Regions from separate parts of the Homo sapiens genome. Here regions 2, 3, 4, 5, 6 and 7 are each linked to region 1. The links are contacts of gene promoters, found by promoter capture Hi-C in human tissues and cell types (Jung and others, 2019). All regions are on one chromosome and are shown on one strand. Each heading gives the region's core, a stretch centred on a gene start or on the middle of the fragment in contact. The rest is flanking DNA. Distances are from core to core; before and after follow the strand shown. Region 1 holds the start of USE1 (unconventional SNARE in the ER 1). Region 2 overlaps TMEM38A (transmembrane protein 38A). Region 3 overlaps MED26 (mediator complex subunit 26). Region 4 holds the start of MPV17L2 (MPV17 mitochondrial inner membrane protein like 2). Region 5 holds the start of CALR3 (calreticulin 3). Region 6 overlaps FCHO1-AS1 (FCHO1 antisense RNA 1). Region 7 holds the start of MED26 (mediator complex subunit 26).

The links. Contacts are between HindIII fragments. The study calls those that stand out against the background at their distance.
Region 2: a contact is called between a fragment that was not itself captured here and the fragment with the promoter of USE1 in region 1, in 1 of the 25 tissues and cell types used here (dorsolateral prefrontal cortex).
Region 3: a contact is called between a fragment that was not itself captured here and the fragment with the promoter of USE1 in region 1, in 1 of the 25 tissues and cell types used here (dorsolateral prefrontal cortex).
Region 4: the fragment with the promoter of MPV17L2 here is called in contact with the fragment with the promoter of USE1 in region 1 in 2 of the 25 tissues and cell types used here (heart left ventricle and spleen).
Region 5: a contact is called between the fragment with the promoter of CALR3 here and the fragment with the promoter of USE1 in region 1, in 1 of the 25 tissues and cell types used here (dorsolateral prefrontal cortex).
Region 6: a fragment that was not itself captured here is called in contact with the fragment with the promoter of USE1 in region 1 in 1 of the 25 tissues and cell types used here (liver).
Region 7: a contact is called between the fragment with the promoter of MED26 here and the fragment with the promoter of USE1 in region 1, in 3 of the 25 tissues and cell types used here (dorsolateral prefrontal cortex, lymphoblastoid cells and spleen).

The regions. Positions count from the first base shown.
Region 1 is chr19:17,213,162-17,216,660 of GRCh38, forward strand. USE1 (unconventional SNARE in the ER 1) reads left to right here and starts at 2,196. Exons shown (of 8, transcript NM_018467.4): 1 at 2,196-2,346; 2 at 2,641-2,690; 3 at 2,831-2,909; 4 at 3,008-3,160. The coding sequence starts at 2,245. It overlaps MYO9B (myosin IXB), which reads left to right. Exons shown (of 40, transcript NM_004145.4): 40 at 1-125. RefSeq lists enhancers at 1,836-2,416, 2,180-2,499 and a silencer at 2,520-2,589. The HindIII fragment of the contact is 58,541 bases long and covers 1-3,499 here.
Region 2 is chr19:16,682,744-16,686,230 of GRCh38, forward strand. All of the region lies in intron 4 of TMEM38A (transmembrane protein 38A), which reads left to right. Among named protein-coding and RNA genes, the nearest start is that of TMEM38A, 23 kb to the left of the region's middle. The HindIII fragment of the contact is 8,441 bases long and covers 1-3,487 here.
Region 3 is chr19:16,609,729-16,613,120 of GRCh38, forward strand. All of the region lies in intron 1 of MED26 (mediator complex subunit 26), which reads right to left. Among named protein-coding and RNA genes, the nearest start is that of MED26, 17 kb to the right of the region's middle. The HindIII fragment of the contact is 6,796 bases long and covers 1-3,392 here.
Region 4 is chr19:18,190,876-18,194,705 of GRCh38, forward strand. MPV17L2 (MPV17 mitochondrial inner membrane protein like 2) reads left to right here and starts at 2,343. Exons shown (of 5, transcript NM_032683.3): 1 at 2,343-2,593; 2 at 2,989-3,159. The coding sequence starts at 2,407. RefSeq lists a silencer at 1,868-2,047 and an enhancer at 2,438-2,487. The HindIII fragment of the contact is 8,354 bases long and covers 1-3,830 here.
Region 5 is chr19:16,494,718-16,498,149 of GRCh38, forward strand. It overlaps CALR3 (calreticulin 3), which reads right to left and starts at 1,450. Exons shown (of 9, transcript NM_145046.5): 1 at 1,322-1,450; 2 at 1,034-1,135. The coding sequence starts at 1,412. C19orf44 (chromosome 19 open reading frame 44) reads left to right here and starts at 1,677. Exons shown (of 9, transcript NM_032207.4): 1 at 1,677-1,748. RefSeq lists enhancers at 714-1,214, 1,215-1,715, 1,350-1,779. The HindIII fragment of the contact is 12,389 bases long and covers 1-3,432 here.
Region 6 is chr19:17,740,250-17,743,975 of GRCh38, forward strand. The region is part of intron 3 of FCHO1-AS1 (FCHO1 antisense RNA 1); the gene reads right to left. Among named protein-coding and RNA genes, the nearest start is that of FCHO1-AS1, 9.3 kb to the right of the region's middle. RefSeq lists an enhancer at 3,611-3,726. The HindIII fragment of the contact is 3,992 bases long and covers 305-3,726 here.
Region 7 is chr19:16,626,210-16,629,739 of GRCh38, forward strand. It overlaps MED26 (mediator complex subunit 26), which reads right to left and starts at 1,995. Exons shown (of 3, transcript NM_004831.5): 1 at 1,663-1,995. The coding sequence starts at 1,734. It overlaps LOC105372296 (a long non-coding RNA gene), which reads left to right and starts at 2,223. Exons shown (of 2, transcript XR_936361.3): 1 at 2,223-3,039; 2 at 3,150-3,530. RefSeq lists silencers at 1,859-1,918, 2,019-2,278, 2,529-2,608 and enhancers at 2,123-3,054, 3,159-3,208. The HindIII fragment of the contact is 10,464 bases long and covers 27-3,530 here.

The sequences.
Region 1 (3,499 bases), core at 946-3,445:
TGGGGATCTCTGGAGCAGGGCCCTCCTCTCTCAGGCTTGGCCCACTCCCCCAGACACCTGGACACGTGGCCACAAATCTGGGACAAGGGGCCCCCGCACAGCATGAAATAAAAAGTGCCTGAGAAGTGTGTGCATGGGACGCCTGCTCATATGGGATCGGGCTTGGAAGAACAGGGCCGGTGGGTGGGGGTCTGCCCTGTGGCCTCAGCCAAGAAGGGTGCAGAATATGGGTGGAACACTGTCCTCAAAGTTCTGTCTTGATCCTCCACCAAACAGGGAGCTCCCAGCAGAGCCTCACTTGGCCAGGAGCGCCTGCTGTCCTGGCAGCCCTCTCTGGCCTCCCTGATTCAGTGCCCAGCCTCTGGAGCCTAAATGTCAGCTGCAGCAGCCACCCATCCAGCAGAGGTGGCCAGTTCCTGGTGGGCCCAGCAGGACAGGAACAGATGGGCTCCCAGGCTGCCATCGGATGGGAGTCGTGGGAACTGGCTGGCTGGTATTGGTTGGGGCACCGTGAAGAACCCAAGTTCAGACAGCACATGCCAGAGGTTGAGGGGCTTCTCCAAGGCCACACAGTTGGGAGGGGCATGGCTGGGATTTAGACTCTGCCCTGCCAGCCTCTAGAGGCCCCTTTGATGGGCCCTGGGTTTGGTCTCCATTGTTTGTTGTGGGTTTTTTTCTTGAAACACGGTCTCGCTCTGTCACCCAGGCTGGAGTGCAGTGGCGCGATCTCGGCCCACTGCAGCCTCCACCTCTCGGGTTCAAGCGATTCTCCTGCCTCAGCCTCCCGAGTAGCTGGGATTACAGGCACGCACAACCAAGCCCAGCTAATTTTTGTGTTTTTTGATAGAGACAGGGTTTCACCATGTTGGCCAGGCTGCTCTCCAAACTCCTGACCTCCAGTGATCCATCCACCTCACCCTCCCAAAGTGCTGGGATTACAGGCGTGAGCCACCGCACCTGGCCCTCCATGGTATTTTCTTTTTTTTTTTTTTTTTTTGAGACGGAGTCTTGCTTTGTTGCCCAAGCTGGAGTGCAGTGGCACAATCTCGGCTCACTGCAACATCCACCTCCTGGGTTCAAGCGATTCTCCTGCCTCAGTCTCCCAAGTAGCTGGGATTACAGGCACCCACCATCACGCCCGGCTAATTTTTGTATTTTTAGTAGAGACGGGGTTTCACCATGTTGGCCAGGCTGGTCTCAAACTCCTGACCTCAGGTGATCCATCTGCCTCAGCCTCCCTAAGTGCTGGGATTACAGGTGTGAGCCACCGCACCTACCCGTCTATGATATTTTTCAAGGACATCAGGCCCACTGGTGTAACCAAGGTGCAGATGACCTAAGGTGTGGGAAAACATGAAGGCTGCATGCCAGGCCCTGGTTCCTGTGAAGCCCCCACCCTCATCCTGTCACTCCAGAAGAGAGGCACTGCAAGGCATAGGGGTACTCAGCTTCCAGGTACTGAGGTGGGCTGGGAAGGGGTTCTCCATGGGGGTCTGGGCGTTAGGGGGGACCCAGCCCCACCTTGCTCACTCTCAGGCAGAGCTGTCTCATGTGCCCCTTGAGGCAGGTACTGTCACACTGTCCATTTCCCGGGGGAAGAAGCGGATCCAGAAAAGTTAAACTCTCCCAGGGCCGAGGATGGAATCAGAGCTGGAGCTGTGACCTGGAAACCCATAACCACAATACAGATGAGCCCTGCTGAGGTGGGGGAAGCCTTGGATTCCTGAATCCCAGGCTACAGAAATCGGGAAGGGTGTGTGGACGTGAAATAGCTCCGACTGGGAAGAATCCAGGTAGGAGTGGGGTGCGGGGAGGTACTTTGAGCAGGCAAAACAGAACAAAAGGGCACACTGCACGCGGGTCTGACACCAGAAGACCCCGGTCGTCCTATCATTCCCGAAGGGTTAACATGCTCTCGAGGAAAAGCAAGTGATTCGCCTAAGTAAGAATGGGGTGGCGCCTCTCCTATTTTTTTAAAATAGAGATAGAGTAGCGCTATCTTGCCCGGGCTGGCCTCAAGCAATCCTTTCCCACCTCTGCCTCCTAAAATGCTGGCATTACAGCCCTGAGCCACCGCGCCCGGCCCAGCGCCCCGTCTCAAAACAAGATATTACTTCCGCTCCAAACAAAGATGGGCCAGCTAACGAGCGCGGGGGAAACATCCGCCCGGAAGGCCACTTGAAGGCACTTCCGCCCTCTCTTAACATGGAGCCGGCGGAAGGGGTGGTGTAGGGCCGGGCGATAATGGCGGCGTCGAGGCTGGAGCTAAACCTGGTGCGGCTGCTATCCCGCTGCGAGGCGATGGCAGCGGAGAAACGGGACCCGGACGAGTGGCGCCTGGAGAAGGTGAGGGGATCTCGCACTGCCGCGTAGAGCCCGACTCCCGGGGGGTGATTCCTAGGGTTGGAAGCCACCTGGCCCGACTCCCCGGCCCCAGTAGCCTCTCGGGCAGCGCCCTTTCCGGTCAGTCCCGCCACGTCCACCTGTAGCTTCCGCCCCCGTCCCTGGGACTCCGCCCCTCCCCCACTGGCCCCGCCTCCTTTACGCTTGACCCCTCCCATTTGTCGGCCCCGCCCCCCCGACTCCCATGATCAGGACATGGGAAAGACCCCCGGGTGACAATCCACTTTTCCTCCCCAGTACGTGGGAGCCCTAGAGGACATGTTGCAGGCCCTGAAGGTCCACGCGAGGTGAGTGCAGGCAGCCTCAGGGCTTTCACATCAGCACGTGGCTGTGCTACTGGACATCCCAGTACCGCTATCCCAGCTGGGACCCTTCCCTGAGCTGGGGACCATGGACAGGTTTTGTTTTTCTTCTTCCTGCCTTCCAGCAAACCGGCCTCTGAGGTGATCAATGAATATTCCTGGAAGGTGGATTTTCTGAAGGGGATGCTGCAAGCCGAGAAGCTGGTGAGAAGGGGTGCCCCTGCCCCCTCAGCCCCCATCACCGCTCACTTTGGTCCCCAGGACCTGCCCCTCCAGTGACTTATCTTCCCACATTTCTGCAGACCTCCTCCTCAGAGAAAGCACTGGCCAACCAGTTCCTGGCCCCTGGCCGTGTGCCAACCACAGCCAGAGAGCGAGTGCCCGCCACAAAGACGGTGCATCTGCAGTCACGGGCGCGGTACACCAGCGAGATGCGGAGTGAGCTACTAGGCACGGTAGGGCTCCTTCCCTGGTCCCTGGGAATCCCTTGGACAGGAATAGGGGTTCTATGCTTGTAGGCAGCCAGAACCACAATACTGTCAGATACAGGAACCCTAAGGGGGTCCAGCAATCTCTTCCCTGGGTCATCACACAAGGCTGCCCAACAGAGGGGCATTGTGGCTAAGGCTTTGCTAGATGAATAGGAATTTGGTACAAGGCAAAAATGGAATGTGTCTGGTTAAGCCCCAGAGTTGGCCCAAGAGCAGGGTTTGAGTCCTGGCTTGCAACTTACAAGACACATAAGTTTCTTCAGCCGTAAAAGAGGATGACAAGTTCCTTTCTGAGCACTTTAT
Region 2 (3,487 bases), core at 166-2,665, 530 kb before region 1:
GAGCAGGAGTTCACTGGCCAAGAAGGAGCCTCCCAACAGAGGCCAGCATCTCTGCCAACTGTGAAATCACAGAAGAGCAGCAGTGCTGCTGGGTGTGCGGGGTCAGGGTACAGGGTATGCATGGGATATGGAGTGTGCATTGGGAGCATATCTGGAGCTAAGTGGACAAGGCCAGGTGACAGCATCCAAGACCCAATGCAGGATCCCACACTGCATTTAGCTTAATGTTTTTTATTTTTTTATTTTTTGAGACAGAGTCTTGCTCTGTCGCCCAGGCTTGAGTATGCTGGCATGATCTCGGCTCACTGCAACCTCCACCTCCCAGGTTCAAGAGATTCTCGTGCCTCAGCCTCCTGAGTACCTGGGATTACAGGCATGTGCCACCATGCCCGGCTAATTTTTGTATTTTGAGTAGAGATGGGGTTTCACCATGTTGGTCAGGCTGGTCTGGAACTCCTGACCTCAAGTGATCTGCCGACCTCAGCCTCCCAAAATACCGGGATTACAGGCATGAGCCACCCTGCCCTGGACAGTTTAGTGCATTTTTAAAAGACCTTGTTGGGGGCTGGGTGTGGTGGCTCACACCTGTAATCTCTGCACTTTGGGAGGCCAAGCCTGGAGGTTTGCTTGAGTCCAGGAGTTCAAGACAAGACTGGGCAACATAGTGAGACCTATTCTATATTAAAAAAAAAAAGTTAAATTAGCTAGGCATGGTGGGATGCACTTGTGGTCCCAGCTACTCAGGAGGCTGAGGCAAGAGGATTACTTGAGCCCAGGAATTCGAGGCTTCAGTAAGCTAGGATCATGCCACTGTACTCCAGCTTGGGTGGCAGAGCAAGACCTTGTCTCAAAAAAAAAAAAAAAAAAAGGGATCATGCATTTAAATCACCTGGCCCTGGAACCTGGTGAGTGCTTTGGAAATATTAGAGAGAATTATCATCATTAGGCTGGGCACGGTGGCTCACGCCTGTAATCCCAGCACTTTGGGAGGCTGAGGTGGGCAGATCACCTGAGGTCGGCAGTTTGAGACCAGCCTGACCAACATAGAGAAACCCCATTTCTGCTAAAAATACAAAATTAGCTGGGTGTGGTGGTGCATGCCTGTAATCCCAGCTACTTGGGAGGCTGAGGCAGGAGAACCACTTGAATCTGGGAGGCGGAGGTTGCAGTGAGCCGAGATCACGCTATTGCACTCCAGCCTGGGCAGCAAGAGCGAAATTCCATCTCAAAAAAAAAAAATTAACTAGGGGTGGTGGCATGCCTGTAGTCCCAGCTACATGGGAGGCTGAGGCAGGAGAACCGGTTGAACCCGGGAGGCAGAGGTTGCTGTGATCCGAGATCCTGCCACTGCACTTCAGCCTGGGCAATAGAGCAAGACTCTGTCTCAAAGAAAGAAACAGAGAGAGAGAGAGAGAGAGGAAGGAAGGATTATTAAATACATGCAGTGAAGCTGGGCATGGTGGCCCACCCCTGTAATCCCAGCTATTCAGGAAGCTGAGGTAGGGGGATTGCTTGAAACCAGGAATTCAAGACCAGCCTGGGCAACATTACAACATCCCATCTCTAAAAAAAAAAAGAAAAAAAAAATTAGCCAGGTGTGGTGGTGTGTGCCTGTAGTCCCAGCTACTCAGGACGCTGAGGCAGGAAGATCGCTTGGTCTCAGAAGGTTGAAGCTGGAGTGAGCTGTGATCACACAAGTGTACTCCAGCCTGGGCAACAGAGCGAGACCTTGTCTCAAAAAAAAAAAAGCAATGAGAGACAGACATCAGGAATAGAAGTCACAGGTCTGTCTTTTGCAACAAATAAAAATATCTTAAACCTATTTTGCAAGGAAAAAAATAAAAGTTAAGGAAAACTCTGCATGTTGTAATCACATTTTCTGGGGGAAATAAGCTGATGGGGGATCCCCAAGATCATCCTGATGTTCCATGATTTGCTAGAAGGACTCAGAGAACTTAGCAAAGCCATTATATTCAGGGTTATGATTTATTACAGTGACAAGATATAGAATAAAATCAGCAGAGGCAGCTCACACCTGTAATCCCAGCACTGTGGGAGGCCGAGATAGGAGGATTGCTCAAGGCCAGGAGTTCAAGACCAGCCTATGCAATAGAACAAGACTCCATCTCTACAAAAAAAAAAAAAAAACTTAAAAATTAAGCAGGCACAGTGGCACATAACTCTAGCCCTAGCTACTTGGGGGGCTGAGGTGGGAGAATCACTTGAGCCTCAGAGTTTGAAGTTACAGTGAGCCATGATCAGACCACTGCACTCCAGCCTGGGTGATAGAGAGAGACCCTGTCTCTGTAAATAAATAAATAAATAAATAAATAAATAAATAAAACGAAATCAGCAGGGGTTGGCTGGGCGTGGTAGCTCATGCCTGTAATCCCAGCACTTTGGGAGGCTGAGGCGGGTGGATTATTTGAGGTCAGGAGTTCAAAACCAGCCCGGCCGACATGGCGAAACCCCATCTCTAGTAAAAATACAAAAATCAGCTGGCGTGGTGGCGGGCATCTGTAATCCCAGCTACTCGGGAGGCTGAGGCAGGAAAATCACTTGAACCCAGGAGGTGGAGGTTGCAGGGAGCTGAGATCATGCCACTGCATTCCAGCCTGGGTGACAGAATGAGACTCTGACTCATACACAAACAAGAAATCAGCAGGGGCAAAATGTGCATGAGGCAGAGTACAGGAAAGAAAAGGTGAAAATATCCAGTTTTCCTCTCCCAGTGGAATCATGTGGACAGGGCTTCATTCTCCCAGCAGCAATGTGTGACAACATGCATGGTGTACTGCCAACCAGGGAAGCTCTTCTGAGCCTGGGTATCCAGGATTTTTATTGTGGCTCAGAACTAGCTAACCACCTGTGTGGCTGACCTCAGTCTTCAGCCCCTCTAGAGGTCCACCTGATGCTGCATGGCCCAAGACCCCCACCATAAATTACGTTGTTACTACCTGGTGTGGCCCAAGGCCGTCCTCAGGCAAACAAAGACAGTCTTATCAAGGCAGGACACTCCAAGGGCTTAGAGGGCATATTCCAGGAGCTGGACAAAGGCCAGATCTTTCCTTGGACCAGGTTAACCCATCATGCATAGGATGACACCATCTCAACCTGCCACCTTACAATCAGGAGAAGCTGTGGCTGGGCGCAGTGGCTCATGCCTATAATCCCAGCACTTTGGGAGGCCGAGCAGATCACTTGAGGCCAGGAGTTCGAGACCAACCTGGCCAACATGGTGAAACACTGTCTCTCCTAAAAATACAAAAATTAGCCAGGCATGGTGGCATATGCCTGTAATCCCAGCTACTTGGGAGGCTGAGGTGGGAGAAACACTTGAAACAAGGAGGTGGAGGTTGCAGTGAGCCGAGGTTGTGCCACTGCACTCCAGCCTGGGCAACAGAGTGAGATTCCATCTCAAAAGGAAAAGAAAAGAGAGAAGCTGGGATGGGAGCTGGTGCCAGGGCAGGGGGGTGTCTGGGCCAGA
Region 3 (3,392 bases), core at 384-2,883, 600 kb before region 1:
TATAAATGAAAAGATTAAAGAATCTGGATTTTTTAGAAATGCCAACTCATAAATTTTTCAATGTTTACTAAAAAAAATGCTTCCAAGTTTTATCACCTTCTTGTGCAAACAAAATTTCTCCACAACAATTATCAAAGTCAAGCAAAACAGAAACAAAAACAAAACCCACACCCTAACATATAAAAGTTATGTTCTTGGACACAAGCACTCTTTAAAAAAAAAAAAAAAAAAAAAAAAAGGCAATGTTATTTCAGTAATGTTATTCAAGCCGGGTGTGGTCGCTCACACATGTAACCCCAACCCTTTGGGATGCCAAGGCGGCCAGGAGTTCAAGACCAGCCTGGGCAACACAGCGAGACCGTCTCTATAAAAAATACAAAAATTAGTGAGGTGTGGTGGCTAGCACTTGTAGTTCCAGCTACTTGGGAGGCTGAGGCAGGAGGATCCCTTGAGCCCAGTAGCTCAAGGCTGTAGTGAGCTATGATTGCGCTATTGCACTCCAGCCTGGACAAGTAAAGTTTTTAGAGCAAGACTCTGTCTCTAAAAAATAATAATAATAAGCAAAACCTTGCCTCTAAAAATAATAATAATCATAATGTTATTCAACACAAGTTCAGTATTAACTATGCTCCCTAACACCCTGTATTTTATTTTCCTTATAATTTCTTTTTTTTTTTTTTCAAGACTGAGTTTTGCTCTTGTTGCCCAGGCTGGAGTGCAATGGTGTGATCTCGGCTCACCACAACCTCCGCCTCCCAGGTTCAAGCAATTCTCCTGCCTCAGCCTCCTGGTAGCTGGGATTACAAGCATTAGCCACCACGCCCAGCTCATTTTGTATTTTTAGTAGAGATGGGGTTTCCCCATGTTGGTCAGGCTGGTCTCAAACTCCCGAACTCAGGTGATCCGCCCGCCTCAGCCTCCCAAAGTGCTGGGATTACAGGTTACAGGCGTGAGCCACCATCCTTATAATTTCTATGGTAGAAACAGCACATGCACTTTCCCCTAGTCTCGCCTCCAAATTACCCATTGCACCCTGTGGATGCCACTGTTTCCTATGTGTGCCATGACATGGAAGGCTGAAAGCAGTGTGACAGCAGGAGGGCATGGGCTCTGTATAATGGGTGGCCAGGAGAGGCCTGAAGAAGTCCGACTGTCACAAGAACTGGATGAGGGAGAAGGTTCTCCCACAAGAATGAGGGCAAGGGTTCAAGTTAAGCTGAGAAAGGAAAGAAGGGCCCAAGGCCTGTAGCATGTGTAGATCATGACAATAAGGAATGTGGGCGTCTATTCTAAGGGTGATGGAAAACCACTGAAGGATGTGAAGTGACAGTGGTGTCATCTGCTTATCGGTATGGAAGGGACAGGACCAAGAGGGAAATGGCCAGGGTTGGACTCGAGATGGAGGGCAGAGGAGGGCTGGAGAACATGCATCCTGGCAGTAGCCCCCGGGCCTCACAGGTGGAGTAGGTGACTAAGGTGAGAGGAAGGCAGAGGCATGGACCACTCCAGGGTGTTTAGCAGAGCCATGGGGTGTGGCTTCACTGACTGTGTGGAGAAAACCAGGTGTTGTCCAGTCATTTTTGGTGGGATGGACCTCTGGGAACATGAAGAACATGACTGGTGGCCTTGACTGGAGTGTTATGTTGCACACTAGTGTTCTGAACCTTCCGGAAACGTATGAGAGGGGAACTAATCCTCTCCACTGATTGCAGTACATAGAGGCCCGCAATCCACTCCACAGCCGATTGCTCTCTATAGTGCTCAAGTGCTCTTCAGGCTAGAGCAGCCTACTTTTATTTTCATTTTTTTACAGTTTAATTGAAAAGACAATGGAGCATAGGGGAAAACAAACCAACCCATTCCCCCTGCCCCAACCAACACAAGTGCTTCCATTTTACCCCAAGTTCTAGTTCTTTAGGCATCCAGCCTATCCAGATGCCTGAGTCACAAAACCACTCCTTTCCCCCTCATGGTAAGGCCTGCCCATTTTTCTATAGAGCCTTCAGAATCACGCTTTCGGCTATAGGCTATTTGACTCTGTGGATGCACCATGATTCTGAAGCTTCTCCCATGCTGTTTAAAAATAAACTTCATTAAAAAAAAAAGAAGTAAATGGAGACAAGGTCTTGTTATGTTGGTCAGTCTGGTCTTGAACTCCTTGCCTCAAGCGATCCTGCCACCTTGGCCTCCCAAAGTGTTGGGATTACAGGCGTGAGCCACCAAGCTCAGCCTGTAAATAAACTTCCAAGAGTAAAATTACTGGGTCACAGGACATGAGCATGTCTATGCCTCTTGCTACATAAATAGTTTCCAAGAGGGTGACAGTGGCTCTGAGCTCCTGCCAACAGGGTGATGCAGGTTGTTGGGGGTGGGGTAGGAGATAGGCCGGGAGAGATAAAACAGCAACCCGCTGGCTTAACATCCAGTCTTGATTACCCACCAAGGCCATTCTGCCCACATGTTTTTGTGCAAGGTATATGTTCCAGGTATCAATTACGTCAACATTTTTCTGTCCAGTAAAATCTTGGAGATCTTATGATTATGATTACTTTTTGTGTGTTTGGTTTTTTTCTTGAGACAGGGTCTCGCTCTATCACCCAAGCTGGAGTGCAGTAGCGTGATCTTGGCTCACCCTAGCCTCAGCCTACACAGCTCAAGCGATCCTCCCACCTCAGCCTCCCGAGTAGCTGGGACTACAGGCACATGCCACCAGCCCCACCTAATGTTTGTGATTTCTACTACAGACAAGGTGTCACTATGTTGCCAAGGTTGGTCTCAAACTCCTTGCCTCAAGCGATCCTCCCACCTCGGTCTCCCAAAGTGCTGGGATTACAGGCTGGAGCCACCATGCCTAGCCACAATTGTTGATTCTAAAGTATGTCTCTACACAGGAAGAATATTGGCTATTGCTTCTGAAAGGCAGCTTCATGTGCACAAAGTTGTATTTTGATCATCCCCACCTGCAACTGCAGCACAGAGAGATTTGGAAAAGTACAGGCAGCTTTTAAACCTGCTTGTGAATTTCAGCCTAAGCACCTCTTCCAAGGAAGAGGCTCTGGACCCTGACGTCTGGGATTTTGTTCTACAACCAATTTCTTCCTGTTTTCCCCCGAGGGAGCATTTAGAAATGTGTAAATTATGCAATGTTGTCTTGTAACTGCTCCTTGCTGACACTAAAGGAAAGACTACCCTTGAAAAAGAACAGCATTTGTGAAAATCAAAGTTCAGTATCTACAAACTCATCTAGGGGTGTAATACCCCCTAGCTCCTGAAAAGTCGAGAAGGGGCTTATACATGTTTAGTACCTACTAGGTACTAAATTTCCTTTCAGGCACTGTTTACCTTTAGTAGGATAGGGACGTCCTCACTTTATAGAGAGTATTAATAGCACT
Region 4 (3,830 bases), core at 1,093-3,592, 980 kb after region 1:
TGAACCTGGAAGGCAAATGTTGCTGTGAGCTGATATTGTGCCACTGCACTCCAGCCTGGGCAACAGAGTAAGACTCCGTCTCAAAAAAAAAAAAAAGCCATATTTCAGTTTTACTTTTTACAGGCCAACAAATGGCATGATTGTGTTTCAATGACGTTTGGCTTATTCTATGACCTGAAAATTATATGAAATGCAAATTTGTGTCCATAAGTAAAACTTTATTGAAACACAATCATGCCATTTGTTGACAAAAAGAGTGAAACTCTGTAAAATATGGGCCGGGCGCGGTGGCTCACGCCTGTAATCCCAGCACTTTGGGAGGCCGAGGCGGGCGGATCATGAGGTCAGGAGATCGAGACCATCCTGGCTAACACGGTGAAACCCTGTCTCTACTAAAAATATAAAAAATTAGCCGGGTTTGGTGGCGGGAACCTGTAGTCCCAGCTACTCGCCAGGCTGAGGCGGGAAAATGGCGTGAACCCGGGAGGTGGAGCTTGCAGTGAGCCAAGATCGCGCCACTGCACTCTAGCCTGGGCCACAGAGCGAGACTCTCTCAAAAAAAAAAAAGAAACTCCGTAAAATATTTAAAGAGGTTAATTCTGAGCCAAACGTGAGTGACCACGGCCCTAGGCACAGCCTTTTTTTTTTTTTTTTTTTTTTTTTTTTGAGACAGTCTCGCTCTGTGGCCCAGACTGGAGCTATCTCGGTTCACTGCAACCTCCACCTCTCGGGTTCAAGAGATTACCCTGCCTCAGCCTCCCGAGTGGCTGGGATTACAGGCGCCCACCACCACGCCCCTGGCTAATTTCTGTATTTTTAATAGAGATGGGGTTTTACCATGTTGGCCAGGCTGGTTTTGAATTCCTGACCTCAGGTGATCCAGCTGCCTCCGCCTCCCAAACTGTTTGGGATTACAGGCGTGAGCCACTGCGCCTGGCCAATCCCCACCTTCTTGACTGACCATTTAAAAAATGTAAGAAACACCTTTAGCTCATCATGAGCAGCACAAAACAGGCAGGGACAGGATTTGGCCCTGAGGCAGGAGAATAGGTCTGGAGGCAGGGAACATAAGGCCAAATCAAATGGAAACAATTCAGCTATGACAGGAAATATCTTCTCCATTTAAAGAGGGCATACATCCAGTAAATGACTTTGTAACTTTACTTCATCCTCTTCATTTACATAGGACGTACATTAAGTAACCAGTGAAAACCTCTAGAGGGCATTTAAACCCCAGAAAATTCTTAAACAGGTCTCTTGAGTCCGTATGCTCCACTGGCTCCCACCCTGCGGAGTGTACTTTCGTTTTCAATAAATCTCTGCTTTTGTTAAGCTTCATTCTTTCCTTGCTTTGTTTGTGCACTTTGTCCAATTCTTTGTTCAAGATGCCAAGAACCTGCACACCTTCAACAGTTAACAGCCCACAGGCAGTAGTTTGCGACTCTAGTAGAGAATGCATAGGGATTTCCATTGAAAATCATTTTTTAAGCCAGTTACGGTGGTTCACGCCTATCATCATCCCAGCACCTTGGGAGGCCAAGGCGGGTGGATCTCTTGAGGTCAGGAGTTCGAGACCAGCCTGGCTAACATGGCAAAACCCCTGTCTAGACCAAAAATACAAAATTAGTTGGGCGTGGTGGCCCGTGCCTGTAATCCCAGCTGTTTGGGAGGCTGCGACACGAGAATCGCTTGAACCCGGGAGGGAGAGGTTGCGGTGAGCCGAGATCGCGCCACCGCACTCCAGCCTGGGTGACAGAGCGAGACTCCATTTCAAAAAAAGAAAAAAAATAATTGTTCCCTACGGGAACGGTATAATTAGGATATAATTGTTTCTGGCCACAGATCACATCCCTTCTGGTTAAGTCCAGGAGAATCTGGAAATACGTAGGGCAACCAGGCCAGAAGGCGTTGTAACTGCCTAAGATTGACCAACCCTAACGCGGGAGGCGGGACGACGGTCACTGATTTGCCAGCGTGACGCCGGTCTGCGACTGGCCAGTGCCGTCCTGGGCGTGTCGGTAGGACGGGGCTGCGACGGTTTCCCATAGGCTGGCACAGAAAGGGGCGGGGAAACAAGAGTGCAACGTTACCAATCGGCATGCGGGACGTAACGCAATTCTTTTTTCCGATTGGTCCGTGAAGCTCGGGAGGTCGTTGGGGGCTCGACCTTGGGATAGAACGCCTGCCTTTTATTGGTCAATACTCTTCGGGCCGGGCAATGTGGCTCCCCGAGGCTGCCTGCGATTGGTGAACGCGTCGCGGCTCGGGGCGGACCTGCGGACTGAAGATCCTTATGCGATTGGCCGGGGAGCCGGAGGGGCGGGCAATTTGGGATCGACAGTGACTCGCGACTGGTCGGCGCGGCGAAAGCAGAGCGGCGCGCCGGTTCCTTGGTTCCTGAGGGCGATGGCGCGGGGTGGCTGGCGCCGGCTACGCCGCCTGTTATCCGCGGGGCAGCTTCTATTCCAGGGCCGCGCGCTGCTCGTCACTAACACGCTGGGCTGCGGCGCGCTCATGGCGGCCGGTGATGGCGTGCGCCAGTCCTGGGAGATCCGCGCCCGGCCCGGCCAGGTTTTCGACCCACGGCGCTCCGGTGAGGACGCCACGCTGCTTAGTCCTTCACCCCGGGCGACCTTTGATCCCGACACCCGACTGCGGGCCGTGACCCCTGACCCGTGGCCTCAGTCCCCCGCAGGACCCTTGCCCTGACCGCGCCTCTCCCCGGGTGTCTGTCTCCCCGCAGCTCTGGGTCTCCATCACCTCCCAACCCCCGGAGGTCTCTGCCCACTACCCAGGAGCCTCTGGAGCCGCGCCTCCTGGTGGGGCTTGTAGTGGAAGAATGCACGGGTGGGCTCTTCCGGTTTTCCCGGTGAGGCTGAGGCTCCGGGATGGCATTGGGCTTACCCAGGCCTTAGCCAGGGAGGGAGAGAGGGAATGGACTGAGGAACTTGCCGGCCCGACCCAGCCCCCTGACTTACACTCTTATAGCGAGCATGTTTGCGGTGGGCTGCAGCATGGGTCCCTTCCTGCACTACTGGTACTTGTCGCTGGACCGCCTATTCCCTGCGTCTGGCCTCCGAGGCTTCCCAAATGTCCTCAAGAAGGTCCTCGTGGATCAGCTGGTAGCCTCTCCATTGCTGGGCGTCTGGTACTTCTTGGGTAAGGAGCCTCCTAAGCCTAGGCTTTGCCTCTCATAGGTCGGGAGGGGTGGAGCCAGCTTTGTGTTAAGAAGGATGCAGAGGTGCATTTCCAATTTGCCCCCTGTTTGGGTCGCCCTGGACTAGGAGCCAGGTCACAGCGGGGACAGGACGGACTCGGCCGATGTGAACGCTGGCGAGTGTAGGAGGGACGAGGACTGTATCTGTTGGGGCTGCCCTGGGCGGGAGGTTGAGAGCATTTCCCAAAGAAGGGGACCACACTCAGTTGAGACATGAAGAGGGAACCAGCGGGCAGAGGGAACAGCTAATGCAAAGGCTCTGAGGCCTGAAGGAAGAGAAATTGAGGCTAGACTTAATGGGGTGCAACCGTGCCAGCCCTAGGCTCGGTAAAGACAGCGGTATTAATAGAGGAGTCTCTCATTCTCCACCTCCCAGCCCGGCTTCCTGGTCTGTGATGGAAAAGTAACACAACTCCCTCAACTTCAGGGTGTCTCCATTGGGGCACGTGTTTATATGTTTATAACCTCTCTTTCTCTCACTGGGACTGACTTGCTCTGTTTTGTCTCTACACCAGCTACCCTAATTCTCTGTCCATCCCATCTGAAAGTCCCTGTCCCTCTGCCCGGGGTGGGCGGCGTGGGCTCTCAGGGGCCCAACCCCGCCCCCTCCATC
Region 5 (3,432 bases), core at 200-2,699, 720 kb before region 1:
TTCTGAGGGGCATGGCCCTTGATCCTCAAATGCACTTGACTAGTGTCTATTAAGAGGGGCAATTTTGGTAATGCCTACTAATAACACATTCATATAAATATAATCCAAAGAAGGTTAAATACCATTGCATATTTGACAGTGCTTCAAGTATGATTTTATTATACCAAATAAGCTGAATATGTCTCCTTGGACTTCAGGGGACCTAATACCAATAAAAGTAATAATAATGATAATAGGCCAAGCACCATGGCTCACGCCTATAATCCCAGCACTTTAGGAGGCCGAGGCAGGTGGATTACTTAAGGCCAGGAGTTTGAGTCCAGCCTGGGCAATGTGGTGAAACTCTGTCTCTAAAAAAATTAGCAGGGCATGGTGGCGCACGCTTGTAATCGCAGCTCCTCAGAAGCCTGAAGCAAGAGAATCACTTGAACCCGGGAGACGGAGGTTTGAGTGAGCCAAGATCGTGCCACTGCACTCTAGCCTAGGCGACAGAGCGAGACTCCTACTACCAAAAAAAAAAAAAAAAAAAAAAAGGAATCTTTGGCAATAAAGAAAGGAGAGAGGAGGCTGGATGTTGTGGCTCATGCCTGTAATCCCAGCACTTTGGGAGGCCAAGGTGGGTGGATCATGAGGTCAGGAGTTCGAGACCAGCCTGGCCAACGTGGACCCTGTCTCTACTAAAAGTACAAAAATTAGCCGGTCATGGTGGCGCGCGCCTGTAGTCTCAGCTACTCGGGAGGCTGAGGCAGGAGAATTGCTTGAACCCGGGAGGTGGAAGTTGCAGTGAGCCGAAATCGCGCCACTGCACTCCAGCCTGGGCAACAGAGCAAGGCTCCGTCTCAAAAAAAAAAAAAAAAAAAAAGGAGAGAAGAAACAAAAAAACAAGGAAAGGAGCCCCTTAAGTTCTACCTTTGCCTTAATGTCTTCATCTGTAAAACGGGAATAAAAGCGTTTTGGCTGTGCCACAACTACCTAGAGAGGTTGCTATGGAAATGTAACATTAGGCTCAATTTGGTCCTGATTCTACACTAACCTTTATCTTTCTCTTTATGACCATAAAACTTGCCCGACGAAAGTCTAAAATGCCCAAATCGGGAGTCATTGGTGGACTGCAACCATCGGTTTCTCCAATGCTCTGTGGGGAAGGGGAAATAACACCGGTTAGAGGTGATAATGGTTAATTTGGGCTAAGGGAAGGGTGAAGGGGACCCTCGAGGATTCGAGGGTTCGCTGCCGTGGACCCCGTGGCGACTCTGGCCAGCCTTAGGGGGCGGAGATGGGGGAGCTTACACCTCCGCCACCACGGGCGTGGCCCCTTCACCTCCGTCTAGAAATTCCTCTTGGAAATAGACGGTAGCCAGCGCCACTCGCAGCATGCATATGGCCCAGAGCTGGACCAAAGCCCGGGCCATGGGGGTGTGCACTGCGCTTCCGGTCGCCGCCACCCCTTAGCTCCCAGCTCTCTCTGCGGCTCTTCAGGCGCGTCCCGAAACTACAACTCCCGTCACAACTCGCGATTATGACCTGAGGGTCCCATTGGTCGCTGCGGCGCGGGGCACGTTGGGCCCGCCCCGGAACTACCGCTCCCATGACACCCCGCGATTGTGATTCGGGGCGCCATTGGTCTGCGGGGCGCGGTGCTTCCCGGGAGATGTAGTCTCTTCTGCTCTGGCTCTGTTGCCCAGGGCAACCGCTCCTTCAGGCGTGAATGTGGCGGCTGCCTCTGCGAATGGACGGCGTGGGAAGAGGTCGGCAGGGCTGGTGGGGAGGTGACCTAGCTGGGCGTCCGGGCTCGCGAGGGGGATACGGGGAAATGGGGCCTTCTCCGGGGCTGAGCTGGTTGGGCCGCTGCAGGATGGTCCCGCGCCTCAGTTTCCCTGTCTGGGGTCTATTGGAGCATGGTCCTGCGCGGGTCGCTTCATAGCTGGGGAGAAGAGCAGGATGGTCTCAGGGGCGCCAGGGTTTTCAAGTTTTGGTTTGTTGATTTGTAACAACTTTATTGAGCCTTCATTTACATACCATAGTGTTCGCCACTTTTAAGCTGACGACTCCGTTATTTTTAGTAAATCTACAAAGTTGTGAAGCCGTCGCCACCATCCAGCTCATCCAGCTTTAGAACTTTGCGTCAGGCCGGGCGCGGTGATTCACGCCTGGAATCCCAGCACTTTGGGAGGCAGAGGCGGGAGGATCACTTGAGGCCAGGAGATCCAGACCAGCCTGGGCAACCTGGCGAGACCCCATCTCTAAAAAAGATAAAAATAAAAAATTAGCCAGGTGTAGTGGCACGCGCCTGTAGTCCCAGCTACTCAGGATGTTGAGGCAGGAGGGAGGATTGCTTGTGTCCAGGAGGTCAAGGGCTGCTGTGAGCTGTGATCATGCCACTGCACTCCGGCTAATTTTTTGTATTTTTAGTAGAGATGGGGTTTCACCATGTTTGCCACGCTGGTCTCGAACTCCTGACCTCACGTAATCTGCCAGCCTTGGCCTCCCAAAGTGCTGGGATTATAGGCGTGAGTCACAGCACCGGCCCGATCTGCTTTCTGAGTTTATTGGTTTGCCTTTTCTTGACAGTTCTTACAAATGAAATGATAGGGTGTGTGGAGTTTAGTGTCTGGCTACTTTCTTTTTTCTTTCCTTTTTTTTTTTTTTTTGAGACAGATTCTCGCTCTGTTACTTAGGCTGAAGTGCAATGGTGCGATCTCGGCTCACTGCGAACTCCGCCTCCCAGGTTCAAGCAATTCTCCTGTCTCAGCGTCCTGAGTATTTGGGATTACAGGCGCATGACACCACGCCCCGCTAATTTTTGTATTGTTAGTAGAGACGGGGTTTTACCATGTGTGTCAGGCTGGTCTCGATCTCCTGACCTCGTGATCCGCCCGCCTTAGCCTCCCAAAGTGCTGGGATTACAGGCGTGAGCCACTGCGCCCGGCTTGGCTACTTTCCCTTAGCGTGATGTATTTGAGATTCCTGCGTGCTGTTATATTAGTATTTGTTTTTTAAATTGCTGAACTGTATTACACTGTATGGATGGACCATAGTTTGTAATCCATTCACTAATTAATGGATAGTTACATTGTTTTCCGTTTTAGTCTACTAGGAGTAATAAATATTATGGGGCCAGGTATGATGATGTGGGATTGTAATCTCAGCATTTTGGGAGGCTGAGGCTGCGGATCTCTAGAACCCCAGGAATCTGAGAACAGCCTGGGCAACACAGTGAGACCTTGTTTCTACAAAAAGTTAGCTAGGCATGGCAATGTGTGTCTGTAGTCCCAGCTACCCAGGAAGCTGAGGTGGGAGGATCGCGTGACCCCGGGAGGTCGAGGCTGTAGTGAGCCATGATAACACCACTGCACTCAGCCTGGGCAACAGAGTGAGAGCCTGTCTCAAAACAAAACAAAACTATTACGAACATTTGCATACATTTGCATT
Region 6 (3,726 bases), core at 1,051-3,550, 530 kb after region 1:
CAGTGAGCTGAGATGGCCTGGGCAACAAAGTGAGACTGTCTCAAAATAAATAAATAAGGCCGGGCGCAGCGGCTCAACGCCTGTAATCTTAGCACTTTGGGAACACCTGAGGTCAGGAGTTTGAGACCAGCCTGGCCAACATGGTGAAACCCCGTCTCTACTAAAAATACAAAAACTAGCTGGACGTGGTGGCGGGCGCTTGTAATGCCAGCTACTCAGGGGACTGAGGCAGGAGAATCACTTGAACTCGGGAGATGGAGGTTGCAGTGAGCCGAGATCGCACCATTGCACTCCAGGCTGGGGGACAAAAGCGAGACTTCATCTCAAAATAAATAAATAAATAAATAAATAAATAAATAAATAAATAAATAAAGTGTCGTCCTGTCCACCAGCACATCTTCCTGTTGTATTTCCTTTTAATCCATAGCCCTAGCAGACTCTTACTTGTTTATATGTTTATATGTCAATATGTTTATATTGATTCCCCCAACTGTGAGCCCATGAGAGCTGCACCCTCTCCATCTTGGTTGTTTCTGGGTGCCCGCTGCCCAGGACAGGACCCAGTACCTGTACCCACACACCAGGTTCTTGGGAAATGTTGGTTGTGCCCCAGCTTGGCAGCACTGCTGGGTGACCTCGGGAATGTTCCTTAACCTCTCTGGGCTTCTCCTCTTCCCCAGTCTCAGAAATAAGAAAGTTGGCCTGAACCTCCAGGAAGAGCAGGGAGCCTTGGGCTGTTTTGGCAACTGGACCCCTGAGTTTTCTTCCCTGGCCTGTTCGGCCCCAGGCACTCCAGACAGGCCTGACCTATGTCATCCTGTCCTCCCCACCCCCTACAGCATCCTTTGGGATCTGGGCCCAGGGCAGGTGTGAGCTGTGGTACCAGCACACCCATGTCAAGTCCTGCCTCTGACGTGTGTTTGCTGTGTGACTTCCAAGAGTAGCTTGCTTTCTCTGAGCTCTGTTTCCCCTGGCCCAGGCTTGGGAGTGGAGTGTCTGGGGGAGTGTGGATGCAGTTCAGACCTCACCTGACAGGTGTGGATAGTACCAGGGCCAGGGCCCCCAAGAAGCTCCCAGGCTGGAGGGGGAGGGGGCAATGCCTAACATAACATCCCAGTCCTGGGGGATCAGCACTGGCTTGGAAGGAAAACCAGATGGGTTTTCAGGAGCCTGGGAAGCTAGCTGGAGGGCTTCTTGAAGGAGAGGACCACATAGGAACTAAGAGCTAAAGGTGGGAAGGAAATCTGGGATGCCAGAAGGAGGACTTCCTGGAGGAGGGGACCACATAGGAACTAAGAGCTAAAGGTGGGACGGGAGCCTGGGAGGCCAGAAGGAGGGCTTCCTGGAGGAGGGGACCACAAGAGCTAAAGGTGGGAAAGGAGCCTGGGAGGCCAGATGGAGGGCTTCCTGGAGGAAGGGACCATAAGAGCTAAAGTTGGGAAAGGAGCCTGGGAGGCCAGATGGAGGGCTTCCTGGAGGAGGGGACCAAACAGGAACTAAGAGCTCAAGGTAGGAAAGTTACCAGTCAGATGCACCCTGAGGTGGAACGGCTTTTGTGCCCCCTGCATTGAGGTGGGTAGAGAGAGGTGAGGACAGGAATGTAGGGAGGGCCGGACCCCATAAGCATGATGGGCTGCTGAGACAGGTTTGCAGTTTTTACCAAGAGTGCTGGGGAGTCTGGGGAGTGTTTCAAGCTGGAGAAAAAGGTGAGCAGTTTCTGTTTGAAACCCCACTGTGGGTCCCAGTTAAACATTCTGGAATTGCTACACACATGCACTTCAATGGAACAGCTGAGCACGTGAAGGTGATAGGACAGGCAAGCCTCAAAATTGGGGCTTAGTCTGAGAGGGTTCTTGGCTTCACCCAGGAAGGAATTTGAGGGCAAGTCAATTGTGTTAAACAGCAACTTTTCTTTTTCTTTTTTCCTTTCTTTTTTTTTTAAGATAGGGTCTCACTCTCATGCCCATGTTGGAGTGCAGTGCCATGATCTTGGCTCATTGCAGCCTCCAGGAGTCCTCCCACCTCAGCCTCCTGAGAAGCTTGGACCACAGGCACAGTCCACCATGCCCACCTAATTTTTTTTTTGAGATGGGGTCGTCTTGCTCTGTCACCCAGGCTGGAGTGCAGTGGCATGATCTCCGCTCACTGCTCCCTCTGCCTCCTGGGCTCAAGGGATCCTCCCACCTCAGCCTCCCAAGTAGCTGGGTCTACAGGCACAAGCCATGGAGCCCAGCTAATTTTTTGTATTTTTGGCACAGGCAGGGTTTCACCATTTTGCCCAGGCTGGTCTCAAACTCCTGAGCTCACGTGATCTTCCCACCTGGGCCTCACAAAGTGCCAGGATTGCAGGTTTGAGCCACCGCACCTGGCCTAATTTTTGTATTTTTTTTTTTTTTTTTTTTTTGTAGAGATGGGGTTCGGCCATGTTGCCCAGGCTGGTAAACAGCAACATTTTCTTCTTCTTCTTTTTTTCTGAGATGGAGTTTAGCTCTTGGAGTGTGATGGCATGATCTTGGCTCACTGCAACCTCTGCCTCCTGGGTTCAAGCAATTCTCCTGCCTCATCCTTCCAAGTAGCTGGGATTACAGGTGCCTGCCCCCACACCCAGCTAATTTTTTTGTTCTTAGTAGAGATGGGGCTTCATCATATTGGCCAGAATGGTCTTGAACTCCTGACCTCAGGTGATCCGCCCATCTCAGCCTCCCAAAGTGCTGGGATTATAGGTGTGAGCCACCATGCCTGGCCTTTTCTTTCTTTCTTTTTTTTTTTTTTTAGACAGGGTCTCGCCTTGTCACCCAGACTGGAGTGCAGTGGCACCATCTCGGCTCATTACAACCTCCACCTCCCAGTATCAAGTAAATCTCGTGCCTCAGCCTCTCCAGTAGCTGGGACTACAGGTGCCCACCGCCAGGTCTGGTCTGGCTTTTTTTTTTTTTTTTTTTTTGAGACAGAGTCTCGCTGTTGCCCAGGCTGGAGTGCAGTGGTGTGATGATAGCTCACTGCAGCCTCCAACTCCCTGACTCAAGCAATCCTCCAGCCTCAGCCTCCCGAATAGCTGGGATTATAGGCATGAGCCACCATGCCCAGCTAATTTCTGTATTTTTAGTACAGACAGGGTTTCTCCATGTTGGCCAGGCTGGTCTCGAACTCTTGACCTCAGGTGATCCACCCATTTCAGCCTCCCAAAGTGCTGGGATTACACCGCGCTTGGCCCTAAACAGCGGCATTTACTGAAATGGCCGTGTAGAGCAGCATCAGAGGTGCTGTTCCTTGCTGAGCAAGACCACTGTGCATAGGCAGTCCATCCAGAATAGTAGCTCACAGGCACAGCTGCACTCATATGTATACCCACTTTTAATTATATGCAAATGAAGGCCAGGCGTGGTGGCTCAAGTCTGTAATCCCAGCGCTTTGAGAGGCTGAGGCGGGTGGGTCACCTAAGGTCAGGAGTTTGAGACCAGCCTGGCCAACATGGTGAAACCCCGTGTCTACTAAAAATACAAAAATTAGCCAGGCATGGTGGTGTGCGCCTGTAATCCCAGCTACTCAGGAGGCTGAGACAGGAGAATCGCTTGAACCCAGGAGGCAGAGGTTGCGGTGCGCTGAGATTATGCCACTGCACTCCAGCCTGGGCAACAGAGCAAGATACCATCTCAAAAAAAAAAAAAAAAAAAAAAAAAAAAAATATATATATATATATATATATATATATATGTATATATATGC
Region 7 (3,530 bases), core at 745-3,244, 590 kb before region 1:
CTAATATCTCAGCAACCTCTCAGACTCTCCAGAAGGAAAGCGAGTGCGTGAAATTAAAAAAATTACCTTCCGGCTCCACAAAAGATGCACAAGTCACCAAGGCTATTTTTTTCATGTCACTAGTTTTATCCTCTAATATTTCAGTCTTAAAATTGCAGTGACACCAGTTACTGCAAAAAGGACATTCTAGAAGGTTTTATATAGCTTGTGCCCACTCCACCCCCAAAGTCATAACAAAAATGTACAATATAACATTTGTTAAAGACAATTACCATCAAGTCAATGTTAATGGGACCTGAATACCAGGGATAAGAGAAGTACTTATATCACAGCAACCAGAGCCTTCGAAAAAACTCATAACCCTTCAGTCTTAACCAAAAATTGTATAAGCCAATGTGAATTATTCCCAAAACATCATCAGAGTGAAGCATATTGCTAAGAGTAATCAGCCAAGCTCATGTAAAAATGAAAGCAAAAACCCCTACGGTGAGAGAAACCTGAGTTACCTGGCCAAGCCAAAGATGATATTTTTCTTCCATTCACAGCACATTAAAAAGTGATCTCAATGGCCACTTCCTGGGAAGCAGGGCCTCCCCTCATACCTGGATGCTACTGCATCTTCCTACCGCCCTGCTCCTGCCGCGGGAAGAATGACCCCTACTGCCAAGAAACTCTTGGAGAAAATATGAGAATAGATCAGTCTTCCCCCCCACCCCCCCACCCCCGCAACAACACACACACACACACGGAAGGGGAGGGGGCGGTCCCTCCGCAAACAGTAGCCTCAGCAAAGGGGCACCCGAGGAAGCGACACTCTGGAGTTAACCCCGACAGTCTGGGTCAAAAACCACCAGGCTGAGACCCCCAGGTGAGGGAAAGAGCCTACTGAAACAGAGCTCTTGGGTAAACGGGAGAGAAAAGTCCTCTTTAATTCACTACCTAAAAAATGGAGCTCTGGCTTGGTCAGAGACGCAATGGGTACTGAGGCCCAGAAAGGCAACAGGAAGGATCCCACCCTCCCCGAGATCATCTATCGTCGGCAGCGACCCCAAGAGGGTTTTGGCAAAGGCGTGTCTAGTCACAGAAGGGAGACAGACTCTCCACGTACCCTAGGTACCCGGCCAGGGGCAAAACAGACTGGGGGTTCTCTCCGAAGCCAGGAAGGTGCTGCCAGCCGAGAGGAGGGGGAAGAAGGACTTCCCTGATCACCCAGGAGGCCAAGACATGGGAGACATAGGTTCCCCGAGTCATACCCCGGACACCAGTTGCTTCACAGCCCTTCTCCCTCCCCTTCCCGCTCCGGGAGGGCTTCCCGGGGGTCTCGGGTCCCGGAGGGAGGGCGAGGCAGAGAAGCTTCGTCCAGAGCAGTGAGGGTCGTAGAGCTGGAGCAGAAAGGGAGGAAAAACTCTAGCCTCAGCTCCCCCGTCTGCTTCCTCCGCCCAGGCCGCACGGAAGCCTCGGCCTCACGTACCGAGCGCTGCCGGGCTGCCCGACCTGCCCCCGGCCCGGGCCCGAGAAGCGAGAGGCAGGGATGGCAGCGGCCCTCGAGGGGAGGTGGGCGCCAGACGGGTCCCCCGAAGCCCGGTGGGCGAGGGGTACAGGAGAGGGGGAGGGTCCCGGGCCCATGCGGCCTCCGTCCCAGCTCGCGCGGCGGGTACTTACGTTGCTCTGGGGGTCGATGGCCTGCAGCAGCCGGTCCCTGATCTGCTGCGGAGACGCCGGAGCCGCTGTCATTGCCTGGGCGAGGCGGGGGGTTGCGGCCGGGCCAGCGGGCGGGCGGGCTGAGGCGGGGGACGGGGGTCACTCACTCGCCGGCCTCCGGGAGCCGGAGCCGCATGTTCCCCGCGGCGCCGGGGGGTTGGGGGCGCGCGGGGTGGCGGAGAGGGGAGCCGGGGCCGGGTCTCGGTCCCGGGCCGCCGCCGCCACCAAAGGAGGAGGAGGAGCCGCCGGAGCCGCCGCCGCTCGCTGCCGCCGCCTCGAGAACCAAACTCCAGTGAGCTGCCCCCGCGCGGAGTACTCTGGGTAGTCCGCGCCGCACGCAGCGTCGGCGCCACGCTGAGGAGGTTGGGAGATGGGGCGGGCGGAGACGCCAGGCCTGGGCGGGGCTGCCCGTGTGCCACGCCCCGCGCCTCCGCGCAAGCGCGCGCAGGCGCACTCGTCCGCCCGTGACGCCCCGCCCAGCCGCCCGGCCTAGGCAGCCGTTGGGAGGAGGTTGGGCGGGGCAACGGCCCCCGTCCAGGTCACGGGGCGGGGCTTTCTGACGGAAGCGCGCGCGCAAAGAGTCCTTGAACCCGGACGCTCGCAGCGGCTACCTCGGGGCGGGGAGGGCGGCGGGAAAATCCTTCCTCTGGGAGAGCCTTCCCGGCGCGTGACTGGGGGACGGGAGTCGCAGGCTGAGCAGCTGCCGAGTTTTTTGTGAGGGCGAGGGAACCAGACGTCCACGTTGTGATTCTGCGCGCAGAAGGGTCATCGGAGTCCGGGGGTGTCGCCGCGGCCCCCCCGCCCCTCAGAGGGTGTGGGAATGGGTGTGGTGGCAGGGCGGGGGTCTGCACCGCCACGCGCGACCCCGATCGCGAAAACGTGAGGCGGCAAAGCGCCTCTGGCAGAAGCCGCCCGCCGTAGCTGGGAAAGCCGGAGGTTGCAAATCTGCGTCTACGCGGCGGCTTCTCCACCTCGGCACCACTGGCATTTGGGCGGGATCGCTCTGTCTTCGGGGCGGGTCCCCCGATCTGTCGGAAGTTGAGCGGCATCTCTGGCCTCCGAAGCGCCCCCTCCCCCAATCTGCAGTCATTGCCGCCGTCCCTTGTGGGGGCACAGTCCCCCCGCCCCCCCACCGGCAGAGAACCCCGTGATTGAAAGACCCTTCTACCCGCCTCTGCCTTGAGATTCTGTAAAACTGAGATGCTCATTCTCTTAACCAAACACGTCACAGAGGAGGAAACGGAGGCCCAAGGTCACCTAGACTTCGGGGTTAAGCCCAGAACCGCAGATGTCAAGTTTAAGGGCGCCCCTCCTCCCTCCACCCTGTTTATTGCCTTGGTAATTGCTCCCCTCTCTCTGGGAGCTCTGTTGGAAATGCTCTTGTGAGACGGGATGGAAAGGCAAGCTCGGCGGCCTCGGGAGAAATCTTTTTTTTCCCACTGTTACAGGAAGACCTAGATTTAAAACAGGAGGAAGACAGCTGATGAGAACCACATGTGTGCCTTGGAGCTGCCCGACACCTGTTAGTCTTGTATTTGTTGTGCTTCTGGGAAATATTTTCATTTGCAAAAACGGCTGCTTCTGCACGTGGCTATGGTTGCGTGCTTCTGCACATGTGAAAAGTTTTACATCACACTTGGAGGAGAAAAGAAACACGGGCAAAACACTTGTCATTTACTGCTCCCAACCTCGCCCCTCCCAGAATGCGGTGCATTGTGTACATGGTGTACATGGTCCAAGTTGGAAACTGGCCCATTCGGAGATAATTCTCTCATTTCTGATAAGCAAAATAAGCAAAGCCTTCCTCAGGCATATTCTGGTCTTGCCTC